Linked DNA regions of Homo sapiens: all the other regions are linked to region 1. Evidence: promoter capture Hi-C in 16 types of primary human blood cells and fetal thymus (Javierre and others, 2016). All regions are on one chromosome and are shown on one strand. The core of a region is centred on a gene start or on the middle of the fragment in contact, and the rest is flanking DNA. Distances in the headings are between cores, read along the strand shown. Region 1 holds the start of CASD1 (CAS1 domain sialic acid O acetyltransferase 1). Region 2 overlaps RBM48 (RNA binding motif protein 48). Region 3 holds the start of SAMD9 (sterile alpha motif domain containing 9). Region 4 holds the start of HEPACAM2 (HEPACAM family member 2). Region 5 holds the start of DYNC1I1 (dynein cytoplasmic 1 intermediate chain 1). Region 6 overlaps LOC105375409 (a long non-coding RNA gene). Region 7 holds the start of PDK4 (pyruvate dehydrogenase kinase 4).

Region 1 (2,819 bases), core at 108-2,607:
ACAAGATCTCTACAGTCCCTTCATATCTAATATTCTATAATTTTAAGAGGGGCCTATAAGCACAAGTTCAGGAATGGCTAAATGGGAAAGTTGTAAAGAATACTTGACAACACCCCAACTAAACAATGACTCACTCTAAACAAGGCAAGGCAAGTAGAATGGCAAGCAATGTAAATAACCATTCCCATCTGGAAGGCAACAAGAAAAACCATTTAAAAAAGGTGGGGTGGGAGCGAGAGGAGAGTAGGGATAACAATGCTTTATTAAGGAAATGGAGTGCTGGCTTTATTGAGAATCACAAAACATTAACCAACGTTAGTAGCGGGGATGATTGTCATAAGCACATTAAGAAAAATTTTTTTTGGCTAGGCTTGGTGGCTCATGCCTGTAATCCCAGCACTTTGGGAGGCCGAGATGGGCAGATCATTTGAGGTCAGGAGTTCGAGACCAGCCTGACCAAAATGGTGAAACCCCCGTCTCTATTAAAATACAAAAATTAAACGGGTGTGGTGGCGGGCGCCTGCAATCTCTGCTACTCGGCAGGCTCAGGCAGGACAACCATTTGAACCCAGGAGGGGGAGGCTGCAGTGAGCGAAGATCACGCCACTGCACTAGAGCTTGGGCGACAGGGTGAGACTCCCTCTCAAAAAAAACGAATTTTTTTGGCACATCGACCTAGCCAAACTTGCGTAAATACAAGTGAGAGTCAGACTCTTTTCTCATCAACACCTACACTAAGTTAGGCTCCTTCTGTACCTTCCATTCGGAACTTTGGTGTACTTTCGCCCACCAGAACTGGGCAAACTGAGGACATTAAAAAAACGGTTTAAGAGAAACTGGCCAGAGCGGTGAGTTAAGTGTTAAGACTGGTTTCACTCCTGGGTTGGATGCCAGCAATCCATCGGCCAGCACCATCAACTGGATCCATCAATCCAATCTGGCCAGCACCCAGGGGCAGCCAGACTGACCAGCCAGGCCACGGATAGCCAGACAATAAACGACCTTAGGGTGTCCTTCGCATCCCGCTGGGCGGGTTCTGGCAGTAGAAGGCTGAGAAAGGGGAGTGTTGGGGAAGGAAGGAATGGGACGATGTGTACTTTTCTCCCGGAACTGTAGTTCTATTGCCCCAACCTGGGCTCAGGTAGCGGCCAGTAAACTAGGAGACAGCCCTAAGGCTCGCGTCCGGGCCAGGCGGGTACCCCTAGTACTCTCTCCCCACACCCCCATGGCTCTGCCGCAGCCGCCGCCGCCCGCCGGGGCGCGTGACCCGGTGACCCCGGAGCACTGGGCATCCGGACCCCCCTCGCAGGCGCAGCCGCTATTAAGGCAGGAGGCTAAAGAGGAGGAGGAAGGGGAGGAGACAGGCGTCCAGGGCGCCTGGGGAACCGGCACGGCGGAGCAGCGGCGGCGGGGCTGGGGGGAGGCCGCCGAGTCGGCCGCGGCCGAGGAGGGGCAGGCGGAGGTCGGGGGCGCCGCGGCCGCGGGGTCAGGTTCCCCGGCGGGAGGCGCAGGTGGCGGCCTGGGGAGCTGGCGGCCGCTCCTCGCCTGGCTGCAGCGGCGGCAGCCCCAGTGCTGCCCCTGTGCGGCGCCCCTTTCCCGCTCCGCCGCGCACTGTTGTCATGGAGGAACCAAGATGGCGGCTCTGGCCTACAACCTGGGCAAGCGGGAGATCAACCACTACTTCAGCGTGAGGAGCGCCAAGGTGCTGGCGCTGGTGGCCGTGCTGCTGCTCGCAGCGTGCCACCTCGCCTCCCGCCGCTACCGAGGTGAGCGGGCCCTCCCCTCTGCCCGGGCAGGCCGTGGGGGAGGCGGCGACGCGGCGGCTGGAGGCCGCCCCCATCGCCCAACACACGCCCACGCGGCCTTCCGCCGGCCCGGCCCGCGGGGGAGGCGGTTCCCCCAGGTGTCCCCAGCAGCGGCCGGCGCCCGAGGCCAACTGAGTGGACCCCAGTGGGGGCCACCAAAGGACAATGGCTGGTGGTTCTGGGCGCCCCGAGCCGCCCGCGCTGGGGTCGGGGGCGCCAACCCTGGACCTGGCCAAAAGTGCTGCTGAGGTCCGGCTCCTGAGCGGTCTGGGTTCGGGGAGACGCTCCAGATCAGGGGCTCGCGTGCAGGAAGTCGGACAGGCGGTCCTTGGGGGCAGCCCGGGGCGCATGAAGCCCAAGGCCGCCCTGCAAGGGGCACCGCTGCCAGCAGTGGGGTCGCAGGTCCTGCCTCTTAAGGGTCCGGCTCCTTAGCCTTTGTTTAATTTTGCCTCTGCCCTGTAACACCCAGTCTGGGCTGTTGGACAGCGGCAAGGGCCGCCCCCATTTTCCTTTGCCAAAAGGGCGACAGCTGGCAAAAGATGCCTGTGGCCAAATGGAAGAGGTGCCACCCAGCTTTTGTGATGCAGAAACGTTTAAAGGCTTCGGAGTGCACACTTTTTACAAAGTTAAGGCACCAGAGCAGATTTTTGGAAGGAAGTTGTGGGTTGACAGGCGTAAAGGTGGGCAGTTGAAAGCAAGTTGTAAGCACTTTGAAAGCAGGCCTTGGCCATGGGTTTTGAAATTGGTGTAAAGGGGAAAAGGAAATATGACCTGATTTGAGAATGAATTATCTTTCAGTAATCAAGGGATATTTACTTCTCCTTGCTGATTGATTGTTTTTTTTCCTTTGTAAAAATGTCACTGGGAGAGAGGCTGACAGGCAGAGGGAAATTAATAATGATAGGATCTTTTATTTTTGGCTCTTAATACTATCAAAGCCATTATCTGGCCAGCTCTTGGTGACTGTGAGATTAATCAGTCAAGATGTAATGTGTAATGGACAGGTGCAAATTA
Region 2 (2,819 bases), core at 96-2,595, 2.0 Mb before region 1:
ATTGCTTGAGCCCAGGAGTTCGAGACCAGACTGGCCAACATGGCCAGTATTTTGTATTTTGTAAAAATACAAAAATCAAGCTGGGTGTGTTGGTGCATTCCTGTAGTTCCAGCTACTTGGGAGGCCGAGGTAGGAGAATCAGTTGAGCCCAGGAGGTGGAGGTTGCAGTGAGTCTTATGGGCCACTACACTCCATCCTGGGTGATGGAGTGAGACTCTGTCTCAAAAGAAAAAAAAAGTTGGGTTTGGAGTAAGTTTTCCATTTCCACTGCTTACTAGCTTCATGATCTTGGGCAAGTTATTTAACCTGTTTAAGTTTTTCCTCTTCCATAAAATCTGTATGGTAAAGGGACCTATCTACTTCTTGGGGTTGTATGAGGATGAAATGAGATAATCCATATAAAGGTGTATCCTGGTCAGAATACAGTAAACATTAGCTATTGTGGTTTCTACTGTTACTCCTTTCTGCAAACTGACTCAGTTTTTTCCAGCCTTCTATGTGACATAATCCTCTGCTCCAAAAAGGCTGAAGTATGCAGTGCCTTATCTATTTTTATATTGATCTCTGTTCTCCTCACTAATCTGCTCTGAGACCCATCCTTCTCTGGCTATTACAATTCATATTTTCTTTCTTGTGCTATCAGTAGAACTCATAGTCTACCACAAAAGCACTTGATTTTACTGGGTCTTGTGTGGTTTTCTCAGGCTGCTGTTATATGTAATTTCACTTTCTTAACCAACCTGCCAGCTCCCATGGTTAGGGAAACATTTTCTAGAGCTTTTCTGTTTTCTATAGTACGTAGTCTGGTAGGCTCTGAAGTAAGACATCTGGATTTGAATCCTTGCTCCTCAAACCAGACTATGAGCATGGCTAAGTTACATAATGTCCCAGTGCTTCAGTTTCATTACAGTGTTGTTTTTAGGTGTTAATTCAAGTGAAGCGCTTATGACATTGCCTGGCATATGGTGAAATCTCAACAAGTATTTATCATTATCCCTGGATATAGAAGTAGTTAAATTTATTGTAGTACCTGGCCAGTCATAGATGTTTAGTAAGTATTTATTGACTGAATAACATTCTTCTCATTTTCTCATTGTTATATATTTAATAGTTCCTCAGTTATTGAATGTTTTATGATTATAGTATCTTTCATCTGATTTTTAAGGCATGAATCCCATCACAGAAATACATAGTGCTGAAAAAGCTTAATTGGGTATGAACCAACTCTTCAGGGCCACAGAGAAAAGCTCCATTTTATGACCACAGTTTACATACTTCAGGCCAACCAGCTGGGTCCTTAGTTGTTTAAAGACTAGGGAACAAAGAGGCTCAAAGGGAAGGAAAGGGGAGGCTCTACGAGTACATACTCGATCAATGGGATGAATACTGTCCACAAGCAGAGCATCTTAATTCCCAATCCACAGGATATATATACACGTAGCAAAAGCTGGACTTTGCTCTTTAGATCCAGATATTGCATACTAGTTAAGCTTTCATCCCAAGTAAATCTAGATTAAAAAACTATGCTATCTTGTATTTCCATTCAGGACAGCCAAGAGAAAAATGGATGAACAGAGTTTCTTCGGTGGATTGCTTCATGTGTGCTATGCTCCAGAATTTGAAACAGTTGAAGAAACTAGAAAAAAACTACAAATGCGGAAGGCATATGTAGTAAAAACTACTGAAAATAAAGGTATGGAAAGCATATTGCTAAATGCCTCCTGTGTGTCAGGCACTCTGCCAGGTGTGTCATCATGCAATTCCCAGTCTAGTGGTAGGAGAGGCAAGTAAACCATCACAGTATTCAGTAACTGTGAACCACAGGGTTCTCTGCAGCACACTACATAATCTGGGTTGAGAAGGGAGAAATATTGGTTCATAGAAGACTTCCTATAGTATGTGAGAAGTGGCTGAATTTTAAAGGATAAGTAGACGTTAACTAAATGGGAGAGGAAAAGATGGAAAGGCAAGCCAGGCAAGATGTTTAAATGTTTAGAGGAATAAATGAGCATCATGCATTTAAGGAACTTTAATTAATACAGTATAACCAAAGCCCAAAGGTTTCAGTGAGAGATAAGTTTAGAAAAGTGGGTAAGAAGTGAATCATGGAGGGCCTTGTGTCCCATGCTAAGGAATTAAGGCTTTGACCAGAATGCAGTGAGAAGCAGTTATGATTTGCAGTTGTCAAATCATATAGTTGTCACTGCTAATCATGGAGAAGTTCTACTTTTGACCAGCAATTGGCTAAATGCCCCCACATGCCTGTTCTACCACATAGTGATGGAGAGAAATAAAGTGGGAAAACTCTTGGAAAACTTACTCAGAAATCTGGTAAGAGAGCTGTTGAGAATCCCCAGTCATCTGCAGACATTGAACTCTAACTTGTAAGATAAGTAAATAAATAGCACCAGGAAAACTTGTATGTTTGTGTGGCAAAGGAAATTATAAAATATTAATGTGGAGAAAGACCTTTGACATTATCTGACCTGGGTCCTAATTTTTCTGGGTGAGGAAACTAAGTCTCAGAAAGTTTGTGACCTGCCTATATTATTAGAGATGAATTAAAGACAAAATAAGGGTTAAAACCCAAGCTTTGGACTCTGTCCAGAGTTTACTTTTTAACTGCTTTAATCATCTCAGTGTTGGTGACAGCCTAGGATTATCTTCATTATTTGCTCCCCTTCCTCTTAAGACCTTTTTGCTGTGCTGCTGACCTCAGAATTAAACTATGACTTGTTTGGCCTTGGACACTTTAGTTAAGCTCTCTTTCATCTGCAGCATTCTAGCCTCTACAAGATGCATTTGTATACGTGGTCTTA
Region 3 (2,819 bases), core at 216-2,715, 1.4 Mb before region 1:
CATTATTTTAAAAAAATTGTTGATGATGTCACTCTTGGAGAAAATATATGCCAGCATTCATAGGTATTTATGCCACTGTTCATAGATATTTTACATATTAATGATTTCTTTATACCCTCTCGTTCCAAAATGTTTTTTAGGTAATTTAGAAAGTAATATAGGATCACACATATATTAAAACCCTTAGGTAAAGAAATCATGGGGAAGGCTAAATAAGGGTAGGGGGAGAAAAGGTGAAATGAGGGAGTAAAATTAGTACCTAAAATTACTGGTTTTGATTCCGTATACTTTAAAAACTGACCTGAAAATTTGGTTCTGAGCATCTTAGTAGGAAACACTATTTGTTACTGATTGAACCCACATACATTTTTTAACTCTGGTTGGTGTTAAACTGTAGGGTTTGTTAACTTTTCTAGAAGGGAGTTGAAGGTCAGACCTTTATTCAGAAATGTGATCCTCCAACCGTCTTGCATTATCTTACTGTTTGCTTTGGGGAGAAATTAGACATAAACCTAGTATTTTTGCCAGGAACATAAAGCTGCCTTAATTCCAAAGACTTCCCATAGTAGTCTATCTGTCTGTCTGTCTTCCTATGTATGTCATCCGACAACAATATCTGAGAAGCTCTCAGAGAGTTTTGTTTTCTGGAAGCTACCTATTTCTTAGAGTAGATGGTGGAAGTTGTATTTGATTAAAGTAAAGTACTTTTAAGTTTTCATTGCCTGTTCTTTATCTATCTTTCCGTTTGTTGTTGTTGTTGTTGTTGTTGTTGTTGTTGTTTTTGAGACAGTGTCTCACTCTGTTGCCTATGCTGGAGTGCAGTGGTACAATTACAGCTCACTGTAACCTTAAATTCCTGGGCTCAAGCAATCCTTCTGCCTCAGCCTCCAAAGTAGCTAGACTGCAGCTGCGTGCCACCACATCCAGCTATTTTTTTTTTTGGTAGGAATCTTGCTAGGTAGGGTCTTGCTATGTTGCCCAAGCTAATTTTGAATTCCTGGCCTCAAACAATTCTCCTGTCCTTGCCTTCCAAAGTGCTCAAATTACAGGCTACCACACCTGGCCTGTTTGTTCTTTCTGAAGATGCTGTATGCCTTGGGAGAGTTCATCAATAAAAGTGTCTGTAGTTTTCAACTGCATCTTTAATGAAATGTTATGACTAATTTTTCAACTAATATAAAGCAGACTGCTGTCAGAGCAACAAATAGTCTAGAATTTCTAGGCTTAGAATACTATTTTTTGTTTTGAGGTATATTTGAAGCTTCTAATTGAAAAGTATATTTCTTTCTATTCAATAAAATGCTGCTATAGATAGTAAGAACAATATTAATAATAGATATTGTACTTACCCAGTAGTCTTGCAAATTTCTTTTACATATATGTGGGGAAAACCATCTCTTTTAGTGCTGAAAATATCTGATGTGTTTGTTTTCTTCCTCCTACGATGCTAGAGAAAAGTATTTTCCTCATTCTGGTTTTAACGGAAGTCTATGTATTCTCTGCTTCTGTCTCACAGCAAGCTCTAATTGGCTCAGAAACAGCAGGGCGTGTTTAACAACTGGGAGGTTGGGGAAGGAAGAATATAGGTTTGGTTTCAGTTTCATTTCTCAGATCTGAAATTACAGCACCGCCTTTTCTATCTGAAATGCTTTTTAATAAGCTATGGCTATATACCACCTTCTGGTCTGCTTGGTTAAAATCTGAAGGCTTAACAATTTTTCCTCACTTGAGAGTTTTGAGGGCTGCAGAAAGCCCCATTGTCTTGTTATAGACAAACTGTGGGATATTCTGGCTTAATTGATCCCTTGGGAATATGAGTTTACATTGCAGTCCCAGCCTTGTAGAGCACCAGGTTGGAGATACTCTAGGTCAATATTTCACTGGCCTTTAAGGGTGGAGTTACTGTCCATTCCTGTTTTCCTAAAGTGTAAAGAATGTCTTTCAGGGATAGGACTTCTTTGAGCACCCCAATAAGTGCTAAATTCATTTATTGCAGAGCAGACCAGGGCTGCAGCAGACCTGATGGTCACATTGTAGAGATTTATCTTTTCTAAGGTCAGTGTCAGGGCCAGAGAGAAAACTGCCTGAGTGAGAGCAACAAAAATAGCTGATATTTTAAAAACTAACAGCAAGTACTGATATTTATTGTGTGTGCTCAATTAGCTTTTGGTTTCCACATCCCACAACTGATTCACACTGGTTTTAGATGAAAACATTTAAAAACATTTATTTTAAAATATTTATTGGGCGCTTACCATGTACCAGGCATTGTTCTAAATGTTTCATATTAACTTAATTACTCTTCACAACAATCTCCTGAGGTAGAGATTATTTTTATCTCAATTTTAAAGGTGAAGAAACTGAGGCATAGAGATTAAATAATATGGCTAAAGTTTGCATAACTAATACATGGCAGAGATTCGAATCCAGGTTTCAGGCCAGTGCTCTTAAATCCTGAGGTTTAGGAAGAAAGAAAGTGGCTATGAAGGACAGCCTAGATATGACCATTACACTTATCACCCTCAGGAGCCCTCCTCGTAAGGGGACCCTGGGCCTGAACTCCAAAACCTGGGTTTCACTTTGCATGGGGACCAGTGTGATGGTTAATTTTATGGGTCAACTTGACCGGGCCACAGAGTGCCTAGATATTTGGTCAAACATTATTCTGGTGGTTCTGTGAGGGTGAGGAGGCAGGACTAGCTTGCAGCTCCTGCTGGGACAGACAGGACAGCATGTGGAGACTCACATCATGAACTTTTGCTTCAAGAATTACTGCAGCAACATACCAGGAAAGCCAAGAGAATTCACAGACCCTTTGA
Region 4 (2,819 bases), core at 166-2,665, 1.3 Mb before region 1:
TATTTTCCTAATGTACATTTGTTTTATTTTAGTTGAATTCCTTAACTAAATTGTCTCTAAGTTCTTCTTAACGCCAGTTTCAAAAACAACACTTATAAAATGATAGTAGTCCTACTGTTTTAAATATAAAAATAAGTGGGATGATGACCCAGGATACTTTCAAAAGGAAGACAAATGCACAAAGGTAGTGACAGTTATAATAATTATTTACTTTTTCAAAAAATTTTAGAAAACAAAAATCTATTATAGGCTTAAATTTGATAACATAAATACTGTGATAACTGGAACAATCACAACTCTGGGAAACTCAAAGACTTAAAAAAATTTACAAACTGTACATTTCAAATGTGTGAGATAGGTACAACAGTAGGTATGAATTTGAATAATAACATTTACAATGCAAACTTTAACAAAATATAGGAGTGAAAGTAAAGCTCTAAATAGCTGAAGAAGCCTAAAAGTTAAATTGCTTATTTTGCTAAGCTGTTCTTAATTTTTAAAAAATGTAGCCTTAATTGAACTCCTATCTGTTGAATATAAACAAAACAAGAAATTGATTTGACTTTTAAAACTGATAAATAGGAAGAATGGAAATGAGAACATCTGGTGAAAATAATGTTGACAGACAGCAGTTGGAATGCTGGAAAGAGACTCCTTTAAACTCAAAAGATAAAGAGGAGAATGAGGGAAAATATTAAGGTAGAAAAAAATTCTTAATAGGACTAGCCATTGGGCAAAGAGAAAAGCTAAAGGCATTTTGGAGTAACAATCTTTTCAAATACGTTCTCCCTTTTGTGTAGGAAATTTTTTTGTTAGTTTGGAATCTTACCTTTCTTCCATATTTCATAAGATGAGACAGATAACTTAAAACGAAGCAGTAAACAGTTTGCAACAATATCTTTAATTAAAAAGAAAACAATTTTCGTAAATTATTTGTAGTTTCACTCTAAGTGGTCACAATTTCATGGCCTATTAGAATATTTGCTGAAATAAATGCATTAAAGACTATTGAACCTATATGTAAACTCTAAAAGAAGAAATTCATTATCTTTTAAAAATATCTGAATTATCTTAATGAGTGCTATGACAATAATTGTTGTTCCAAGAAAACAATAACAATCTATTTATTGAAACTCATTTCTCTTAAATGTTCCTGCTTCTTTGCTGTAACAGTGTGTTATTGTTAAAAGGTTCTGACCTGCTCTTCAATTATCTGAATGCATCTACAGCCTAAAGCAAATATTTACCTTATGTCCACAATTAAAAAAAAAAAACCTAACAAACAGCTAAAACACAATTCACACAGGGCCTTACCGAAGAGAAGGAGGTATATTTTGCACTGAAAGACCCCAAGTGTGTCACCGAAGGGCTCCATGAAAGCATCCTGTCCCATGCATGCAGTGCCCTGTTCTCAGTGGTAACTTGGACCAGCAGCTGCTGGTTTATTTGCTAGGGAAATTAGCAGTGAGGTAACAGACCCTATCTTGCCTCTTGCTTCTGTGATTTGAATACAGAATGAATGTGTATACAAAGGACACAGGGAGTGGGAACACCTGTTATGTGCTTAGCAAGAATACAGGCTTATGGCTTTCAGAAGAGTTTCTTAGCAACTACCAGTAATTGTCTATATATTTCATAAATTATACTTAGTTATTAAAAAATCACATGAAGGAAAACATCCTTTTGCGTGACTTTACTGAAAAATGGCATGTTTTCATAATGAAAGAATATTGTGAGATTTCCTTAAAAACAAAAGCTGGTTTTCTATCATGCAGAACTATGCCATTATTATTTTAAAATTAAAAAAAATTATATGAAAATTGAAGTAGCTCATGTATCTGCTAAACAGTTATAAATCTTCATGAAGTCACTAACATGTAAAAATTCTACCAATGAATCAAAAGAGAGATCCAGAATATATTTAAAACGTATTTTTTCTATGCAGTGTTTCCTATTACAATGACTGATTTCATTTAATCTTTGAATTCATCTTATTTTTAAAAGCAAATCACAGGTGTGTTTCCAACTGGGACTGAGGCATGGACCATGCATAATTATAATGAAAAGTGCATGCCAGGAGATAGTATCTGAGGCCACATTTTCACAGCTGATGCATAGAGGAAGTGAACCAATGATCTAGAAAAGATCTTACCTCTACTGCAGTGTCCAGGTTACAGGTTTTCAACCTGGTCTCTCCATTGTCATGGCAGCAGATAGTCTAAGCATGTCCGCTTAATTTACTAAGTTATTAGTTAACCCCTATTTGCAAGAAGGCTCTGGTTCTAGCCTTGTTATATAAAATGTTAAGGATATATCCAAATCTGCATCAAATCATCAAATCAAGGAAAATTCCTTGCATGCATCAGTTTTAACAGTAAAGGCCCACTGAAGAAGTTCAATGATAAGAGGGGAAGGAAGACTATACCTCAAGCATAATTAAAGTAAAAAAGGAATGATAGTAACTTTGGAATCCAAGTTTGGAAACACTCTTTGCATTAGGGCTCTGAACTCTTCTAGAAGGACTTCTATAAGCAAAGAAAGTAAGTGACTATTGGGAAAACGAAGTCCTCTTCAGAGATCAGTCACTTTCAGATCCCTCCATGCTTCAGAAAAATGGCAAGAGCTCCTCATGCTTCCCCCACCTCCCTGCAAAATAATAACAATGCCACAACTTTCTCTGCACTGTCTCTAAATCTGGTACACACATCTATTGCAGCACTTATCTCCTTAATCTTTATTTTATTGGATGTTTATTTTCCCTCTGAGCTCTCGAATACAGAGAATAATCTTATTCATTCATGGATGTTGGGCACGTAGCA
Region 5 (2,819 bases), core at 200-2,699, 1.3 Mb after region 1:
GTGGTTATGGAACTTGGGCAAGGGAGTTAACTTCTTTGACTCAAGTTCCTTTTCTGGAGGCATGGCATTCGTTATATGTACTACATAATGTTATAGAAAAGTTAAAGAAAAATGTATGTAGAATTGACATGTATTAAATATTCAGTCACGGTAGTGGCAAATATTTATTTCCTAGATTTTTCCTTCTGGAATACCTTGAATACCTTCTACCTAGACATTTAACCTCTTCATTTCTAGCCATAGTTACAATCGCAGTAGATTAGCCAGGGAGGCCAAAGTTTTAGAATAAGGATGGCCATTTACAGATGAGTATGTATTCATACTGTATTCATACTAGAATCTGTATTTATTTTGAAATTACTGTAGTACTTGTGAATTAATAAGTTCATAAATATTTACTGAGTACCCATTATATATCAGAATGCTGTTCTAGATACTAAGAATACAGCAGTGAACAAGATAGCGTCCCTGCCCTCCACTAATTTACATTCTAATGTGTAAAAATACACCACAGATGTGCAAGAAATATGATGAAAAGCTCATCTATAAAATGATACCAAACCCCCTAACATCCCAAACTCAATTTTTTGGCCTTATAACTTAGCTGTTGTGGCAAGCTTGTTTTTTGCAGAGTCCAATAATAGTTACCCAGATTTTTTTTTGTTTCCCCGAGACGGAGTTTCGCTCTTGTTGCCCAGGCTTTGAGTGCAGTGGCGGGATCTCGGTTCACCACAACCTCCGCCTCCCGGGTTCAACCATTCTCCTGCCTTAGCCTCCCGAGTAGCTGGGATTACTGGCATGCACCACCACGCCCGGCTAATTTTGTATTTTTAGTAGAGACGGGGTTTTTTCATGTTGGTCAGGCTGGTCCCCCAACTCTCGACCTCAGGTGATCCGCCCTCCTCGGCCTCCCAAAGTGCTTGGATTACAGGCGTGAGCCACCGCGTCTGGCCAGTTACCCAGATTTTTAAAAGCTGGGACTTTAAGAAGCAATGTGAAGACAAGCTACACACACACCACACCACACACACACACACACACACACACACACACACAGACACACACACTTAATTCTTTTTTCTTCTAGAAAAATTGGGATCAATCAGACCTATAAGTCATTGTGTACAACAGGTAGATCTGAGCTTTATTTCTATTTAAATGACCTTAAGAAGTGTAGTTGCCTGGGAGTGAAAGTTGTTCAATGGTGGCATTTCAGCAGGAGCTCCCAGAATATTGAAGCTCTTCTCTTTGCAGCAACTGAGGTCTAAGTCCTACCGACGTTAGAGGGATAGACGAATTGACCTTTCCAGGTCCTCTGCTCGCCACCAGCCTACGGAGCGGCGCCACCCCCTCCTGGCGAGACCGGGCGCGGAAGACGCGGAGCGGAGGCCCTCCCTCAGGAGGGGCGCGGGCGTGGAGGGCGTGGGCAGGGGGCGGGGCGAGCCCCGCAGACTGAGTGCTCCGGGGAGCTGTCAGTGTCAGGCTCTGGGAGAGAGGAAGTGATCGCTCCCGGAGGAGCGCGAGCCGAGCGGCCGGCGCAGCGTGAGACAGCACATCCTGCCCGCGCCGGCCCCGCCACCTTCGGGAGCCGCCTGCACCAACGCTGCCGCCGCCCAGGAGCCGCCGCCGGCTCGGGGAGCCCAGTTCCGCCGCTGCCGAGCGCGTCCAGGTAAACTGGAGCGGGATGTCGCCGCTCCCCGGACGGCCGCCTCCGCACCTCTCCCCAACCCTCCCCACCCCGGTGTCGTCTGCGCTGGGAACCAGGCTGGAGCCGAGGCCCCTGCAGCCGCAGCCGGACCCTTGTCCTGGCCCCCTGCCCAGGCTCCTGCGTGCTCCGCTGAGCCCGAAGGCGGCCAAAGCCCCCCAGTGACACCCCCCTCTCGGCAGAGCCGAGAGACTAGGGCAGAGAAGGAAGGGTCGTGGTGTCACCACCTGGTCGCCCACCTTGTGGGCTGGGAAGGGCGTCCCAGTGCGCCCCGCCTCGGTCTTCCCCGGGGGAGCAGTGGGCGAGCGGCGCTGAAATCTGCACCCCTCTGGGCCACCGGCTGACTGCCCCTGGAGGAGGGGGAAAGCTGCAGAGGGAGGGGAAAGGATGCTGTTTGATTACATTTCGAGCTGTCTGCAAAGCTCTTAGATGCTGTCACTACCCTGCAAGTCGGAGGGAGCGAATTCACTTCCAGCAGGGCATTAATTAAACACTTCAAAGCGAGAAGATGCCAGTTTCTCTCTGCTGCGAAAAAGTGTGGCTGGGGGATGTTGTTTTGGTAAACACCTTCACGGCCGCCTGGCTCTCCTTCCCCCGCTCCCATTCGGAATCGCTCTGGCCTTATAAATCCGTGCGTCGTCATCATAAGGGCAGTGATCCTGGCAGCGCTGATGGGAACTGAGTGTGCGGGAGTCTCATGACTTGTACCTTGGCTAATAAGATTAAACAGAAGCCCAGGATCAGGACAGGAAATTACATAGGAGATCAGAGACTCAACAACATGCAGAAGATGGAATATATTCGCTATTCTGGCCTCTACTAATCCTAGGTAAGGGGCAGGAACAAGTAGCCAGCCATTTTCTTGCTTGGAATGCCTTTCAAGTGGGCATTGTAGACTTATTGTAGTTCAGAGTTGTGAAGAATTGCTTCCAAATATTCCAGATTAGCAAAAAGTATAGCTAACAGTAAGGCATAGGCAACTGCAGGTGACAACCCAACGCCTGATGTTAACACAGACATGGGTAACCAGTCTGTGTACATACTTTAATTGTGGAAATTATAGAGATATACGTTGATCAGTGTTAGTAAATTTGAAAAGGGAATATTCAGTGCA
Region 6 (2,819 bases), core at 96-2,595, 1.2 Mb after region 1:
ATGTTTTCTCTCTGCTGTTTTAGGTAAATGAAAAAAAGTATCTCTGAAACACGAGTTTCTTCATGTGTAAATATGAAATATTAGTTTCTTCATGTGTAAATATGCACAACCCTGCCCATTTTGCAGAGCTGGTGTAGTATGAGAGCGAGTACATGTAACCTGCTGAATTTGCAGCCTGGCACACAGCTGGTTCTCGGTAATCTTTAACCAGTGCATTTTTGCCATTTAATGTATCCTTTGATATTACTGCACTCACCCCATAGACTCACTGTTTCAACCCCACCCCACCATGATGCATTATCACCTTTTATTCACTTTTCTACAAACAAGCTCCTCACACCAAGCCTAATTTAGATTCCTTGCATCTCTTAATATCAAACTAGTACAGCCGCATCTCTCCACTCCTCACTGAACTCATGATTTGGGACCATTTTTTGAAACTCTTGATTTGTCTATTTCATTTTCCAGGAAACATATCACAAATTATATTTATACATTTTTTTGTACCTGATAATAAGATGCATTTATCCACATAATGACATGACATTTTCTCCTCCGGGATTGTTATTAAGCTTGAGCCTGACCTTTTTGCACCTTCAGAATGTAAATGTTCTTCTGAATCTCTGTTAGCTTTATGTATATATGCACAGCATCATGTTTTTAGAATGATATGCTTCTGTATGTGTATAAGACTAAAGCAAAATAGAATTTGAGATCAAGAACTGAAAGAAATTCATTAGCAATCTTAAAACACGAATAAATTTAAAAGATATTGTAACTCAGTAAAGGAATATTTACTAGTGTAACAGACTAAGCAGACATGATTTTTAAAAGTAAACAAATAGTTACTAGAAATATACACAGTTATGTTTAAACCTAAAATAGAAGGTGAGTTGATTTTCTACTCCCAAGATGCTTAGACCAAATGGATAAGAGAAAACTAGACAGTAAAGGATGTGATAATTATGATTTGAAACAGTGGAGGATCTAGACAGAATTAGGAAAAAAGAGAAGAAATAAACCTCTGTTTCCAACAGATGGTGCTGCATATCATAAATATTTTGATGAATATAATGACCCCAGGGTGTTCTGGGCCCGTCAATTAACACTCTAATGGGAGATTTCAACAATCCATATGACAGGATTTACAGAGAGTGACCAGTCATGATTACTAAAAAAAAAATCTATGCTATAGCGAGCATAAAATAGGTTCAACCACAGAATAATAAATACAAAATATGGCAAATATATAATACACAATATTATTAATTACAAAATATTGCTAAAGAATTCAGATATCAAGTTAGAGAATTAGAAACCACATGGCAATAAATGGATATATGGATATCATGTTCCTTGACACTACCACACTAACATTAAAAAGCAAAGGAAGGGGTGGAATTCAGACAACATACAGGTCACAGACAAAAGATAGTCATTATTTCAATATCTGAAAATATCAGTGAAATATTCAGTCATTATCTGAAGTGGATGTTTGCAGGGTGGAAAATTAGATGGTAAAATCCAAACAAGAGCTTAACAGCTAAACTGTGGAAGGGTTTCAGAAAAGTAAAACAATACTGATAAAACTGGGAGAGAGAGCATGGGCGTAATGCACACATATAAGATGAATTGTTGTTTATGTAAGTGTAATTAAGGTTAGTACACTTACAAGGCAGGATGTCCCCAGATCCAACTACAATTATAAGAGCAACTAAAAATACAGGTGGGATGTAATGATGTCCCAGTTGAGATAAACATGGTAAGGACACTGTTATTAGACTACTGAAAAATGTGGAGATTATTTGGTACTAGAGCAGATCTAAAAGAAATAGACCAAAAGAAAAAAAAAAAGAAGGAACTGATGGGGAAGGTAGGGGAGTTGAGGACACACCGAAGAACCTAATAGAAAATAAAAGAAAGAATAAGAAGAACTTCTGCTTATTCTAGACATGAAAAGAAATAGATAGAACCATCTTAAGAATAGGTAAGCCCCATGAGACAGAATAGTAGACCACATAGGGATAAATGGCTTTCATGCAGCCCAAAAGTAAAGAACTTCTGCTGTTCCAACAAAGGGAAAAAAGGAAGGGACTGTTACTATCAAAAACAGTAAGGATAAGCTTAGACTACAGAGACAAAACCCAGAGCTCTAAACTAGAAACATGGCATTCTTTTATCTTTCCTGATCACATTTTTCCTATATTATCTATTAAAATGTAATTGTGCAAATAATGTTATAATAGCATTACTACATACAGAATCATAAATATCAATAATTTCAGGAAAAATGCCTGAGTATGCATAAACGAAATGAAAAGAAAAATTTAAACTGTTAGGAGGAAGCATTTCTGTAGGAGTCCTGGTAAAATGAAGCCTAGGATCAGCCAGTTGTCTTCCCAGAACATGAAGTATCTTTAACAGCAAATTCCAAATGAGTAACTGGAACAGACCTGATAAAAGAAAATTATAGGACATTGAAGAAAATAAAATCAATTTAGTAGTATATATTTCTATTGAAGAGGCAAAACTGACACCAGTGACATTACTCACATTGGATTGTGATGTGTCATATCTATTCTCTTAACTAAAGTTTATTCTTGAAAGCTTTGTAAAATTTATTTGGTGGTGTGAATGGGGGAAGTTTTATTATAATTTTGGATCATTTATTTAACGTGTACATATGAACTATTTAGATTTTCTTTTTCTTCTTCAGTCAGTTTCAGTGAGTAATATTTTTCTGGAAATTTGCCTGTTTTACTTAGGTTTTCAAATTCACTGGCATAAAATTGTCATTGAGGTGGCAGTAGGAATGGCAG
Region 7 (2,819 bases), core at 165-2,664, 1.1 Mb after region 1:
GTCTCACAGGCAATTCTTGTCGCAAAAATGCAAAAGAAGTTCTTTCACATGCATTTTCTGAACCTATAATAAATGAAATCAATTTAGTTTTGAGAAAAAGTGTGTCTAAATGATATATCTAAATAGCATTAACTATCAAATATTGAACACACATATATTATAAAATTATATTTCACTCTCAGTTGGGTTACTGTTAATCGATAATTCAGGGGCGATTGTCTCCTTAATTGACTAATTCCCTTCGTCCTTTCGTCTTTCCTTCTTTCTTTTAAAAAGTGACAGATATAGGAGAATTATTGTCTTCTCTTTTTGAAGAGGATTCACTTCCAAGAAGTAAGAATATCCCACAGTTCTTAGAATTTATAAAAGACTGCAGGATTCGGTCACACCACAATGTCAACAACACAACATCCTTTAATGAGTGGGGACATGGAATTGGAGTTGGGGGATAAGAGGCTGGAGGGGGAGCTGTGATATTTCCAGAGTAGTGATATCACATTTAAACCCTTGAAATCTTCCTTATAAGATTACTGCAACAAATGTGTAAATATTTTCAGCAACAATGCAAATATATGGAAAACTATAATGATAAAGAGACAAAGAAATCTGTCAGGAATGCAGAGAGATGTACCCTGTGGAAGGATGCCAGGTGGCTAAGGAATAAAATCTGTTAATTTGAGGCTATTTAATACTATTCAGAAACTTCTCCAAGCAGTACTATGCTGTGAAGGAGAGGATAAAGTTTCCAGTCCATTGTTAAACGGTGACCGAAAGCAAAAAGTATTTTGACTGGAAGAGCGGGTCAGAAAGAAGAGTGTGCAGATGAAGTCAAACCATCCAGCGTCGGCAGGCTTGCAGGTGGCCTTGACCTGGAGGCACCCCTGTCAGAAAGTAACCAAATCTAGGAAAAGGAAAGGTGTGCTGGCGTCGAGGCTCCAGGGCTCAGCAGCAAAGTGAACCCCAGTTGTTTTAGCTTGAGCCTAGCCCTCCCTCTACCAAGGCTGAAAGTTAAGGCAGTTCCCCAACCCTAGGACCCAGCTTGGGCCCTGTGTCCCCTCTCACCAAAGTCCAGTAGCTGCTTCATGGACAGCGGGGACGGGCTGTAGCGCGAGAAATGCTCCACCTCTCGGGGCACCAGGCCGGCGCCGTTGAGCGAGCCAGCGCTGCGCAGCACGAAGCGGGCCGCCTTCATCTTGACGCCCACCCGGCCTGGCGGGGACTGTGGCTGGCTTGAGGGGCGAAGGCTGCTCGGAGCAGAGCCTGGTTCCGAGGGGGCGCGGCGCGTCCGGGCGAGGACTGCAGGTGCGCTGGCTGGCTTGTGCGCCCCGGCCTGGGCTGGGGTTTGAGGGTGCCGCGGAGTGAAGAGTCTGGGCAGAGTCGGAGATGCAGTGGTTCGAGATTCAAGTTCAAGTCTTCCCACCAGCCGCCGCCGCCCGAGGTTTTATTTGTCTCCCCGCACTCTCCCCCCGAGTCCCAAACAGGAGGAGTCACTGGAACTTGGAAACGCGTCCTGAACTCCAGGTCGCGCCAATCAGATCAGAGAAAGAACTATGGGCTCCGCCCCTCCAGCCGCGGTCATCACAGAATGGCCTGGCACGGTGACCACGGAGTGCCCTGGCACCGGTGCCCGCGGCTGTGACGGAAAAAGGGTGGGAAGAACAGGGAAGAGGAAGCAGAAACAGGTATCTGGGGCAACGTGGGCTTAAGATTAGCCTCTTGGGACGGGGCTCCGAGTCGCGTGGGCTGGGGTCCCGCCCAGGCTCGCCCTTGTTTACAACTCGGAGGCTGTCTCAATGTCAAGTACTCCTGGCCACAAACTGTTTCCAAGAGTTTGGACTCCGCGTGCTCATTGGTCCTTGCTCAGAGCAGGGCTTTTACAGTAGCCAACAAGCTGCGTTCAAAAGTATGGGCTTCTCTGCCACTGGACAGAGAGAAAGGAATAAACAACCTAAAGACCTGCGCCCCCACCCCCACCGCCCCCTTTTCTTCAGAAGAGACCGGCACATGGCAGGAACTGTACGTTCCTTTTGCTGAGACTTGAGGGGCTGCCCAGATACATTTACTTTTTCCTGTGGTAATAAAAGGCCATCAATTCGTTCTTCTCCGGCAACACATTCTTTCCGTTAGGTTTAGTTCTGTTAATTAAAAACAAAATTAAAAAGGGATCAATTTGTCAGTTTGCCTTACCTTTTGCGGTGATCAGAGAATTTGTTCACTCTGCCCTGTACGAAATGTCCTTACTCCAAATCTTTACCTAAGACATTCCATTCTACCCTCAAATGTCTGGCACAAGCTGTCTGCTGCAAAAGGTCTTCCTTGATTACTTCTCCTCACTTCTTCCAAATAAGGCCTTGGTCTTTCATGGTACTATTCTATAGCTATTTATGTTTTTATATTATCCCTCTCTGACTCCCCCCTTTCCTGAAAGAGATCAGGGTAGGGACCCTGTCTGATGCAGCTTTGTGATTCCTACTTTTTCACTACTCAATATTTATTAAATTAATGACAGTGGTTGAGACACATTACCCTGTCATACTAACCTCCTTTTCCTCTCCCGACACTCTAAAAGGACTAGGGAATGAAGCCACCGTGTTTGGGAAAGTTGGGAGTAAGAGAGTTGGTTACAAATGTAATAGAATGGGAATTTATGAGGTGTTAAAAATGATAGTTTGTTATAAAAAACCTTTTTGGCCTCCTCCCCCTGCGTTTATTTTATTTTAATTAATTAATTAATTACTTTATTTATTGAGACAGAGTCACACTGTCTCCCAGGCTGGAGTGCAGTGGTGCCATCTCGGCTCACTGCAACCTCGGCCTCC

Evidence for each region. Contacts are between HindIII fragments. The CHiCAGO score rates a contact against its expected background, and 5 or more counts as called.
Region 2: a fragment that was not itself captured here is called in contact with the fragment with the promoter of CASD1 in region 1 in 1 of 17 cell types (naive CD8 T cells); the score reaches 6.5 in naive CD8 T cells.
Region 3: the fragment with the promoter of SAMD9 here is called in contact with the fragment with the promoter of CASD1 in region 1 in 1 of 17 cell types (naive CD8 T cells); the score reaches 6.6 in naive CD8 T cells.
Region 4: the fragment with the promoter of HEPACAM2 here is called in contact with the fragment with the promoter of CASD1 in region 1 in 3 of 17 cell types (non-activated CD4 T cells, naive CD8 T cells and total CD8 T cells); the score reaches 6.3 in non-activated CD4 T cells.
Region 5: a contact is called between the fragment with the promoter of DYNC1I1 here and the fragment with the promoter of CASD1 in region 1, in 6 of 17 cell types (M2 macrophages, M0 macrophages, erythroblasts and 3 more). The highest score is 18.2, in M2 macrophages.
Region 6: a fragment that was not itself captured here is called in contact with the fragment with the promoter of CASD1 in region 1 in 1 of 17 cell types (M2 macrophages); the score reaches 7.1 in M2 macrophages.
Region 7: a contact is called between the fragment with the promoter of PDK4 here and the fragment with the promoter of CASD1 in region 1, in 2 of 17 cell types (M2 macrophages and total B cells). The highest score is 5.5, in M2 macrophages.

The regions. Positions count from the first base shown.
Region 1 is chr7:94,508,452-94,511,270 of GRCh38, forward strand. It overlaps CASD1 (CAS1 domain sialic acid O acetyltransferase 1), which reads left to right and starts at 1,358. Exons shown (of 18, transcript NM_022900.5): 1 at 1,358-1,766. The coding sequence starts at 1,634. RefSeq lists enhancers at 643-1,631, 1,632-2,618 and silencers at 1,152-1,371, 1,412-1,561, 1,662-2,021. The HindIII fragment of the contact is 8,005 bases long and covers 1-2,819 here.
Region 2 is chr7:92,530,857-92,533,675 of GRCh38, forward strand. It overlaps RBM48 (RNA binding motif protein 48), which reads left to right. Exons shown (of 5, transcript NM_032120.4): 3 at 1,548-1,693. Among named protein-coding and RNA genes, the nearest start is that of RBM48, 3.5 kb to the left of the region's middle. The HindIII fragment of the contact is 286 bases long and covers 1,203-1,488 here.
Region 3 is chr7:93,116,514-93,119,332 of GRCh38, forward strand. SAMD9 (sterile alpha motif domain containing 9) reads right to left here and starts at 1,466. Exons shown (of 3, transcript NM_017654.4): 1 at 1,350-1,466. The HindIII fragment of the contact is 4,352 bases long and covers 1,260-2,819 here.
Region 4 is chr7:93,225,054-93,227,872 of GRCh38, forward strand. HEPACAM2 (HEPACAM family member 2) reads right to left here and starts at 1,416. Exons shown (of 10, transcript NM_001039372.4): 1 at 1,315-1,416. The coding sequence starts at 1,393. The HindIII fragment of the contact is 7,149 bases long and covers 1-2,819 here.
Region 5 is chr7:95,771,105-95,773,923 of GRCh38, forward strand. It overlaps DYNC1I1 (dynein cytoplasmic 1 intermediate chain 1), which reads left to right and starts at 1,450. Exons shown (of 17, transcript NM_001135556.2): 1 at 1,450-1,669. The HindIII fragment of the contact is 2,753 bases long and covers 616-2,819 here.
Region 6 is chr7:95,694,710-95,697,528 of GRCh38, forward strand. All of the region lies in intron 2 of LOC105375409 (a long non-coding RNA gene), which reads left to right. Among named protein-coding and RNA genes, the nearest start is that of DYNC1I1, 76 kb to the right of the region's middle. The HindIII fragment of the contact is 1,551 bases long and covers 571-2,121 here.
Region 7 is chr7:95,595,102-95,597,920 of GRCh38, forward strand. It overlaps PDK4 (pyruvate dehydrogenase kinase 4), which reads right to left and starts at 1,415. Exons shown (of 11, transcript NM_002612.4): 1 at 1,063-1,415; 2 at 1-63. The coding sequence starts at 1,192. PDK4-AS1 (PDK4 antisense RNA 1) reads left to right here and starts at 1,578. Exons shown (of 3, transcript XR_001745287.3): 1 at 1,578-1,682. RefSeq lists a silencer at 696-990. The HindIII fragment of the contact is 12,066 bases long and covers 1-2,819 here.